Regions from separate parts of the Homo sapiens genome. Here all the other regions are linked to region 2. Evidence: promoter capture Hi-C in human tissues and cell types (Jung and others, 2019). All regions are on one chromosome and are shown on one strand. Each heading gives the region's core, a stretch centred on a gene start or on the middle of the fragment in contact. The rest is flanking DNA. Distances are from core to core; before and after follow the strand shown. Region 1 overlaps WWC2 (WW and C2 domain containing 2). Region 2 holds the start of CLDN24 (claudin 24). Region 3 has its middle 55 kb from the start of CDKN2AIP.

Evidence for each region. The method cuts DNA at HindIII sites, captures the fragments that hold promoters and counts their contacts. A contact is called where the count stands out against the background at its distance.
Region 1: a fragment that was not itself captured here is called in contact with the fragment with the promoter of CLDN24 in region 2 in 2 of the 25 tissues and cell types used here (heart left ventricle and mesenchymal stem cells).
Region 3: a fragment that was not itself captured here is called in contact with the fragment with the promoter of CLDN24 in region 2 in 2 of the 25 tissues and cell types used here (H1 embryonic stem cells and aorta).

The regions. Positions count from the first base shown.
Region 1 is chr4:183,226,426-183,229,532 of GRCh38, forward strand. The region is part of intron 4 of WWC2 (WW and C2 domain containing 2); the gene reads left to right. Among named protein-coding and RNA genes, the nearest start is that of WWC2-AS1, 13 kb to the right of the region's middle. The HindIII fragment of the contact is 3,146 bases long and covers 1-2,920 here.
Region 2 is chr4:183,320,854-183,323,753 of GRCh38, forward strand. CLDN24 (claudin 24) reads right to left here and starts at 1,573. Exons shown (of 1, transcript NM_001185149.1): 1 at 911-1,573. The coding sequence starts at 1,573. The coding sequence ends at 911. The HindIII fragment of the contact is 4,220 bases long and covers 1-2,900 here.
Region 3 is chr4:183,387,866-183,391,094 of GRCh38, forward strand. No RefSeq gene overlaps it. Among named protein-coding and RNA genes, the nearest start is that of CDKN2AIP, 55 kb to the right of the region's middle. The HindIII fragment of the contact is 6,122 bases long and covers 1-3,229 here.

The DNA of each region.
Region 1 (3,107 bases), core at 98-2,597, 95 kb before region 2:
TTAAGTGGTCATAAAAATACATATAAATTTTGTAGGCTGCAACTAAAGCAGTTTTTAGTAGGGAATTTATATAGGCTTAAAGAAGAATACTAATAATAACTAAGCTTTGCATTAAAAATCTTAAGGAACAGACTAAACTGAAAGAAGACAGGGAGAAATAGAGATAAAGACAATAATTAATGAAAATTTTAAAATGGTTACAATAGAATAGCTCTGCAATATTTAAAAGCTAGAAAACAAACAAACAAAAAACACCAAATCAGGCTTTGTCAGGATTTCACAAGAAGAGAAGAGAGAAAGCACCAAAAAGCCAACATTAGGGGACTTTTTTTATCCAACCATTCAGTGGACAATATGTCCACACTGTATGTCTCCTTCTAGTGATAACTAAAAATTGTGAATGTAATATAAATGAAGATAAATGCAAGTCTGGATAAGGTAGAAAGAAAGATTTCATAGAGACTGTACACCGGGTTCAGAACTCAGAATAGTAAGCAGAACACTAAAGCTGGCTTTGCCCTGAGGAAATTTGATAAGCTAGGTGCATATTCCCTTCTATTGTGTCCCTTTCTTGGTCTCATGGTGACAGACCCCAGCTGCATCAAGTGGGGACTCAGACAGTCACTAAACCTTCAGTGTAAGAATACTAGAATTAAATTCAGCCAGCCCAACCACCCTAGCATACCTCCCACCACCACCACCACTACTTGTTGAAGACAGCAAGAAAGGTTGCCTATCTAGAGCAACAATGCTAGGTAGATAAAGGAGGAAAAAAAACATTGGGACCGTTGGATTTATCACCATCAGATACCCCTGAATTCACATTTACCTGGATGGTCTGAAAAAGCCCAAGCTAAACACTTAGCTGTGACAGTTGAAGCAGTGACAGATGGTTGTGCCTCCAGTCACTTGCAGATGCACGTCTTCTCCAGAGTAATACACCTTCAACTAGTGCTTTCAGTAGGAAAGTATGAACGCATAGCCCAAATCACAGATGTACAGAGAACAAAGAACTGGCAGGATAAAAAGAACAGACAATAGAATTTGATCTTCAGATGCTTGAGATTTTTGAGAAATTAGAGAAAATACAAAATATCCATGTTTAACATGTTTTTAAGAAATAAAAAAAGAGATTGGAAATATAAGTAAGGAAGATACCATGAAAATTATCAAGAAAATACGGAAACAAACTAAGTAGAAGTTCTACAAATTAATCACGTAATGAATTAAAAATCAAAGCTGGTGGGGAATTATTTGCAAAGGTCCAAAATTAGCAAGTAATAGCTTATTTTTTCATACCAATCGTGTTTTCTTATACCTTCAGTGTTCTATGAGAAAATAACCATTAACCAGAATGTTATACACAGCAAAACATCTTCCATACATATAGGTGAAATAAAGACATTTTCAGACAAAATTTGAGAGTAATGTATGGCATCAGTTGTTCACTATATTACTACAGAAAGCAGGAGAGGAGAGAAAAGAATAAAAAATACAGGGCAAATGAGTCTAATATAAGATGATAAACGTAAATCTCAGTGTATCAATAATTAGAATTAAGTGTAATTGGATTAAATGCTCTAGTTAAAAATACAATGGTTAAAAGACTGGATTTGGAAAGAAAATCTACCTATATGATACTTAAAGAGACACCTAACAACAAAGATACAGAAAAGTTAAAAGGACGGGAAGAAAAAGATATACCAATCAAATCCTAACAGAAAAACGCTGGTATACACAAATAAATAAGTAAATAAAGCTTTGTTAATGTCAGAAGTGATAGATTTTATGGCAAAATGCTTTACCGAAGAAAAAGGACCATGAGTCTGTAATGTGTCCGTTAAAATGTGGGCCCCAAAATATATAAAGCAAAAATTGGCAGAAAATCCACAATCATAGTGAGAGATTCCAATATAACGTTTGGTATTTGATAGATCAAGCAGATTTAAAAATTAGTATAGAATAGGTAAATACACGTGGTTGACAAGCTTTATTTAATTAATGTATACAACATGGAGCCTATGCTATATTGGGGTGGGGAAAAATGGGAAGCAAAAATATTTTTCAAGCACATTTAGCACATTCAGGAAAACTGACCATATTTGGGCCATTAGACTTGTTTCAATATATTTCAAAGTATTGGTTAGACCACATTCTCTGTAGTGAATTTGTTAGAAATTCATTTAAAAAATAACAACAAAGCTGTTTCCCACCTTTCAGAAAAGCTAAAATCCAAAAGACGAACAATATGAAGCGTCGTTAAGGATGTGGGGCAGCTGGAACTCTTTACTGCTGGTGGGAAACTGGCCTTTCCTAATAAAGCTGAACGTGTGCATGCACACCTGCTACCATGCAGCTCCACCCTAGAGTAGAGTGTTTGTAGTGTGTAGCCTGTGTCTGGAAGTATGTGTCTGTAGCCTAATGGATGAATGCATTGTGTATGGTCATGCAGTAGAAGCTCATCTAGCAATGCAAATCAACGTACACAACTGCATGCAGCAGCACAGTGTTGAGTGGGTGAAGCTAGACACAGAAGAGTACACACTGTATGAGTCCACTTATATTAAGTTCAGAAAAGACAAAACTATTTACAGGCCTAAACGTTGAGATAATGGTTACTTTTAGGGAAAAGGGAAGGTTTAGTAATTTGGAGGGCACAAGAGTGGCTTCTAGGATTCTGATAATGTGTTGTTTCTTCAGCTGTTGGCCATTACCTGGCTGTTGCTACTTCGAGGACACTCGCTGAGTTGCTACGCTTAAAGTTTTTTTACTTTCAGTGTGTATGTTGTACTTCTAAGAAACCTGGAAGCTACATAATTTGGAACTCTAGAGTAATACACTTCTAAATAATGGGTCAAACATATATGAATGTTCTTTGCTAAAATTAGTGAGTAAAACTTTGAAAAAGAGGATATTTGCATTGCTTCAAAGCATCTCCCCTCAACTTTGTAGTACTTAACCCTGGTGGTTTGAACATGTCTGCTAATTTTGGTACCTCTTTCTTCTTGAATTTGGGCTGGATCCAGTGAGTATCTCCTGACAAATAGAGTATGGAAAGGAAAAACAGGTGATTTATACTATAGAAACCTGGCAGATCCCACTGGAAC
Region 2 (2,900 bases), core at 323-2,822:
ACTGAACTACAGATCTAGTTTATTTATCTGCATGCCTTTCTGTCAAATTCACGCTTGTGTGCATAAACACTTTTTTTTCTTATATATGCTTTCTGTGCCGAGGAAAGTTCAGCATTTGGACTCTGCAGGTTGGAGTCAGCATTTCTGTTTATTCACCACTAAAGTAGATATCCCCATGTTAGCGATTTTTCATTGAACAAAGGAAAGGTTTTATTCAAATGACCTGACAATATCAGGATATCAAGAAAAATGTCTTTGGAATTGTTTTTCTTTTTTTAATACGAAGGTTTTGAGGGAAAGGATGAGAGAAGAGATTGGCCACCATTTTAAATCTGAGAGGATCACAAGGTACTGAAAACTCTTCAGCCTCATAAAATCTTGCCGCACTGAGTGCCTGGTAATATCCTAAAAACAAACCACTTCTGTTCAAAGAAGAAAAAGGTCATTGTTGTGGAAATAACACTTTGAGGTTGGCTTAGCATGTGGTTTTGCTAAAGTAGAACACTTAAAATTTTCAGATTGTTAGTTTTTTTCTTTAGGAAACAGAAACTAAAGATCATTTCTGACTACCAACAGCAACAACAAAAAAAAGAAAAACAGAAAAAAGCTTTCTAATATGAAATTTACACATTAAAGCTTGAAACTGACTGTATTGGACAGCCACCACATTAATTTCAATAACCAGATCAATGAAGCTTGTTTCACTTCTACCTGTATAATGCTTACCATAATCATTTTCTTTTAGATAAAAGATTTTTCCTTCATTATTCAGATTTTAGAGGGAAGTGGGTCTACCTACTGTAGAAAAATAGTGAATGAGAAAACGTGAGCATCACAGGTTTAGCTACAAAACAAAGAGGTCTTTGTCATCACAGTTGATACAGGATACATCTCTGGCCTTGTCGGAGTCTTACACTTGAGGATCTGCTGTCCCATCTTCCAGGTAGGGACACTGAGTTTGCATTTGCGCCACTGCATAGTGGCCCAAAGCTAGGGGAGCGTGGCTGGAGCAGGCTGCGCAGTTGAGCAGACACCCTCCTAGCAGAAGAGAAAGTCCAGCAAACCAGCCCAGAAACAGGGCCTCCCCAAACTCCCACCTGGGGACAAAGTCTGGGACGTTCTCATCCCAGAACTCCTGAACCGTCTTGTGGGCAACCCAAGAGACGGGAACCAGGGCTGTGATTCCCGAGGCCCAGGACAGAATTCCTCCCAGAATGAGCAGTCGCCTCTTGAGATCTCTCTGACTCTCTCCAATTCTCAAACAGTCCAGGCCAAACCCAGAGACCAGCAGGCCCAGAAATCCCAGCCCATTTGACAGAAACATTAAGATCCTGGAGACCCTGAGTTCAGCAGGCAAAGCCAGGAAGGAGTCAAAGTCCTTGCATTGCATCCCCACTTCCTCTTGGATGACACAGGTTTGCCAGAGTCCCATGGTCCAGTTTTCCATTTCATTTAAGTCCAGGTTGAGGTTCTTCCAGTGTGGCAAATAAGTTGTAATAATGGATAAAATCCATCCCAGGAGAGATAGTAAAAGTCCAACAGATTGCATTGCTGTTCTAAAGATTAAAGCCATTGCGACAGGTCTTAGGACTTTGCCACCCCTATAGGATCTGCTGTCCTTTGTGGTTGACGGTAATGTGACAATCTTGGTTCTATGCTGCCTGGAATATAAGCTGTGGTCATTAACTCTTTGGGCACTCTGAAATGCGTTTTTGTTCTTCTTGAATATAATGTTTCACGTAAAGGACGAAGGACTCTGTTAAAACTATGAGTTGGGCTTTCTGATAAGGACTTGATCTGTTACCTTCCAATTTGGTAAAATTATATCCCCAATGCTTGATGATTATAAGTCTAAGGATGAACAAAGAGGGCTCTATGACCCCTCACCCTAAAATACAACAGAAATCTTTGTGCTTCAGTATGGATTAATTAGATTTTAAGTGGTGATAAAAGGCCAGCTCTTTCTACAACAGGACTTCATTGTAAGAGCTGAATCTGAAATTTCAGGGATGCAAAACAAGGTCTTGTAAAGAAAGGTAGACTGTTTCCTATAATCTCTATTCTTCTCAGACTTCCTTAACCTACACAAGAGCCTGGCCCACATCCTCGAGTGTCGCAGGAGCTCAGAGTTGGCAGGAAGGTTCCTCGGATTCCTTTGAAAGGTAGAGGCTGGCTTACGGGACTGATTAAAATGAAAAGGACTGAGGCTGATGCTGGGGGCTACTGAGTGCGGAAGGGAACGTCCCGGGCAGTTCCAGCATTCACTCTGTGGTTTTCTCCATCCTCGTTAAGGACTTGGGGGTAAAGCATGATATCTTAGCGTCCAGGGAGGTGTTTTTTGTCCAGAGCTGAGCTGTCCCCTTGTCATTTCAGCAGCTTACGCAGAGCAACACCAGGCTTCAAGACTCCTGCCAGCTCCCAGACAAAAGTCTCTGGTACAAACACAATAGCCACAATGGAGCTGAACTTCGAGGCTTCATCTTGTTTATTTTTTTGGTTGAGGCCACACCTTGAGAGCATACTTACGCAGAGGGTTGACCCCTCAGAGAACACAGGACCGGCCTCACAGGCCAGGACAAGAGGTCACCTGCCCCAGATTCCCAGGGCTGCACCGTCTCCTCTCCACATGGCCCCTGGGCATCCTGCACCTGCTCAGAGGAGATAAAATCAGATGGGCCCACAGGACAGAAAAGTCCCTAAAGGTGGAGCCACTCCCCTGAGAGGTTCTAACCTGGAGAAGTAGAACCACTGCCCATCACGTTGCAACAGTGGAGTGTAGCCCAGGATCAGAAATTATCTTCTATTGTGTCTCTAAATAGGAGATCGGAGAGACAGAACATGGATCCCGATGTATCCAAATTACTTTGGATAAGATTGCATAAGATGTAGATTTGAGGTGG
Region 3 (3,229 bases), core at 388-2,887, 67 kb after region 2:
TGGCTTTCACTCTCTTTAAAGCTTTAGTCCTGCACTGGACTTTTTTCCTGATACTTCAGAGATCATCCTGGGAAATAAACCTGCCATGCCTTACCTACGGGCAAGGAGTCAGACCCCGGATTCTGACTTCCTGAGAATGATGGAAATTTGGATCCTTGCTGCTCTTCATGGATCTTATCCTGCCTGCACGCAGCAAGACAATGATCAAATTTTCAGGTGGAACTAGAGCTCCAAGGAGTCTGGCGGCTGGGAAAGGGATGCATCCCACTGGCCCCAACCCTATTCCAACTCCTTTCCTGGCTCTAACTAATGCCCAGGTTCTGGGATTTGCAACACATACCTCACCCTGTGGCCCCCCAGCCTCTCGGGATGCCCCTATCTTTTGGCCTGGCCTGACCTGGCCTGACCTGGCCTGGTTCTTCTCTACTACTTTGGGATATTTACGAAGTTTTCCATTCTTACAAGTCTAGCGCTGCTGCAGATCGTCTGGCTCTCTGGCTACAGCTCGAGAAATGTTCTCACCCACCCACACAACTGCTGGGTGACCTGAATGCACCCAAGTTCAGGTAACATGACAGAGATGGAGAGACAATTAGTTAGCTGCAGGCCTATATTAATCAGTCTCTCCAAATGCAGTCAAGGCACAGAGCCAAGGGGAGTTAGCCCTTTTTGATTGTTTGCATCTGAATTAAAGTAGTCGCTCCTTTCATCAATAGCAATTAATATTTCCTGAGTGCTTCCCAGTAGCATGGCATTGCATTAAGTCTTCCTAGGGCTTTTCACAACATAGAGGATGTGAAATTTCTGGTCTCGATGAGCATATAATAATAAGCAAGACATGACAATTAATTAGCAAATATTTACAGAGTGTGTATTTAGCCTAGCCATTTCGCTGGAAGCTTATACACCACAACTCAATAATCATAGAAGGGACCCTCAAATAGGTGGAGGCTGTCTCCAAAGCCCTGAGCTTCACAAAGGCGTGGGAGAGTTTGCTCTCACACTCTGGCCCCAGGCACCGCCAATGGTTTCCAACCATAAGCAGCACCTTCCTCTCAGGGAGTGCCTGGAAATGTATGGCAGCATTTGTTATCTGCCTTAGGCTACAAACTGGCATTTACTGTGTGCAGTACAGGGATGCTGATGTTCGACAATGTGCCAGACAGTCCTTCACAACCGAGAACTTTCCCACGCAAAATGCCTGTAGAACTCCTGTTGAAAGCTGACAGAGTAAAAGCTATGAAAATATTCAGAGGATTGAGGAGTCCTCTGGCGATTTTCCTCTCCCAGAGTTTGAGAAATCCTCTTTTGGAAGGGGAATGACGTTTGGAGGGGTGAGGGCCAGGTTAGCCCAAACTCTCCAGGAGCCTGACTGCTTCAGGCATCAGAGAGTAAGCCTCAGTGGTCTGTTCTGCTAACAAGTCCAGAAGATCATATTTTTCACTGTTATGGCTGAGTTACCTCTTTTGGAAGAAGTTAAGCAAGATTCTCAGTTTAGAATATTATTTGGTCCTTGTTTTCAACTCAACAGTCACATCACAGTGTGTCTTTCAGGGTAATGTTTCTTAATAATTGCGACCAATTAAAAAAAGGAAACAAGGAACATGAAGTATAAACGGACTAGCGCCCTGTAGTAAAATGTTCATCGGAGACCCCATAGCCACCTGAGCCCCAAGCTTCCCACGATGGTCTGTGTTATGGCCGAGCTGCCCGCAGATTTGCAGCAAGAGGCCAGTGAGGGGCAGCCTGAAACCACAGAAAGCAGTGGAACAGGTCGGGCGCGGTGGCTCATGCCTGTAATCCCAGCACTTTGGGAGGCCACGGTGGGCAGATCACCTGACGTCAGGGGTTCGAGACCAGCCTGGCCCACATGGTAAAACCTGGTCTCTACTAAAAAAAAAAAAAAAAAAAAAAAAAAATTAGCGGAATGCTGTGATGGGCGCCTGTAGTCCCAGCTCCTCGGGAGGCTGAGGCAGGAGAATCACTTCGACCTGGGAGGTGGAGCTTGCAGTGAGCCAAGATCGCACCGCTGAACCAGCCTGGGTGACAGAGCAAGACTCTGTCTCAAAAAAAAAAAAAAAAGAAGTGGAACAAGCTGTGGCCAACCCGGGGCAGGCATTCTGAGAGAGTAGCAGGGACGGAAAGGAGAATGACACCCAGCAGAAGCAGAATGTGGACGAGCAAGCCTGAATCTGCAAGAGGGGGCAGGGCATGTGGGGTAAGGCACCAGCGTTCCAACCCACTTGCAGCAATGCTCTTTGGAACCAGACTGAAGCGTGGCCTTGGAGAGCGGCATCTGGCTCTGAGGAAGCCACTGACGCCTTCGGGAAGGTGAGCCGTCTTCGTTCACTCACAAGAACAATTAAGGCACAATTTCTTTTTTAATTAATTAATTAATAATTTTGAGACAGGGTCTCACTCTGTCACCCATGCTGGACTACAGTGGTGCCATCCTGGCTTACTCCAGCCTCAACCTCCTGGCTCAAGTGATCCTCCTGCCTCAGCCTCTCGAATAGCTGGAACTGCAAGCATGCATCATGACAGTGGCTAATTTTAAATTTTTTTGTAGAGAGCGAGTTTCCTTATGTTGCCTAGGCTGGCCTCAAATTCCTGGGCTCAAGTGATCCTCCCACCTTGGCTTCTCAAAGTGTTTGGATTACAAGTGTGAGCCATCACGCCTGGCCTCAGGGGTTTCCTTTATCACTTATTACCACTTCTATTTTCTAAGAGATCCTTTTGTACATACAGCCTAAGACAGCATCAGTCCTTTTTCGCAGTGGTGATGTTATGGGCTCATATGTACCCTAAGTAATTACTCACTATTACTCCTTCTTCGAAAGAAGGAGGAAACTACATTGCTGTTTCTTAAACAGCAGCCTTCCCTGTTAGATATCTGTGGAATATTATTTCTCCCCAGGTGCATTACCTTACATTAACCTATACACTTATGCTAGGATTACATTATGCTAAATCAAAAGTGCATTTTTTATATAAAATATTTCCAACTTACCATGGGTTTACCTGGATGTAATCTCATGGTAAGTGGAGGAGCTACTGAATGCGTATTGCTTTTGCACCACTGTAAAGCTGAAACTCGTAAGTCAAACCATAGTAAATCAGGGACTATCTGTGTTAAATCTAATCTTGTTCACTTCATTTCCTCACTAAATTTGCCAGATCAAACTACAATTTAATCCCTGTTCTTCTGTCTCCCTCCATCTCTTTCTTC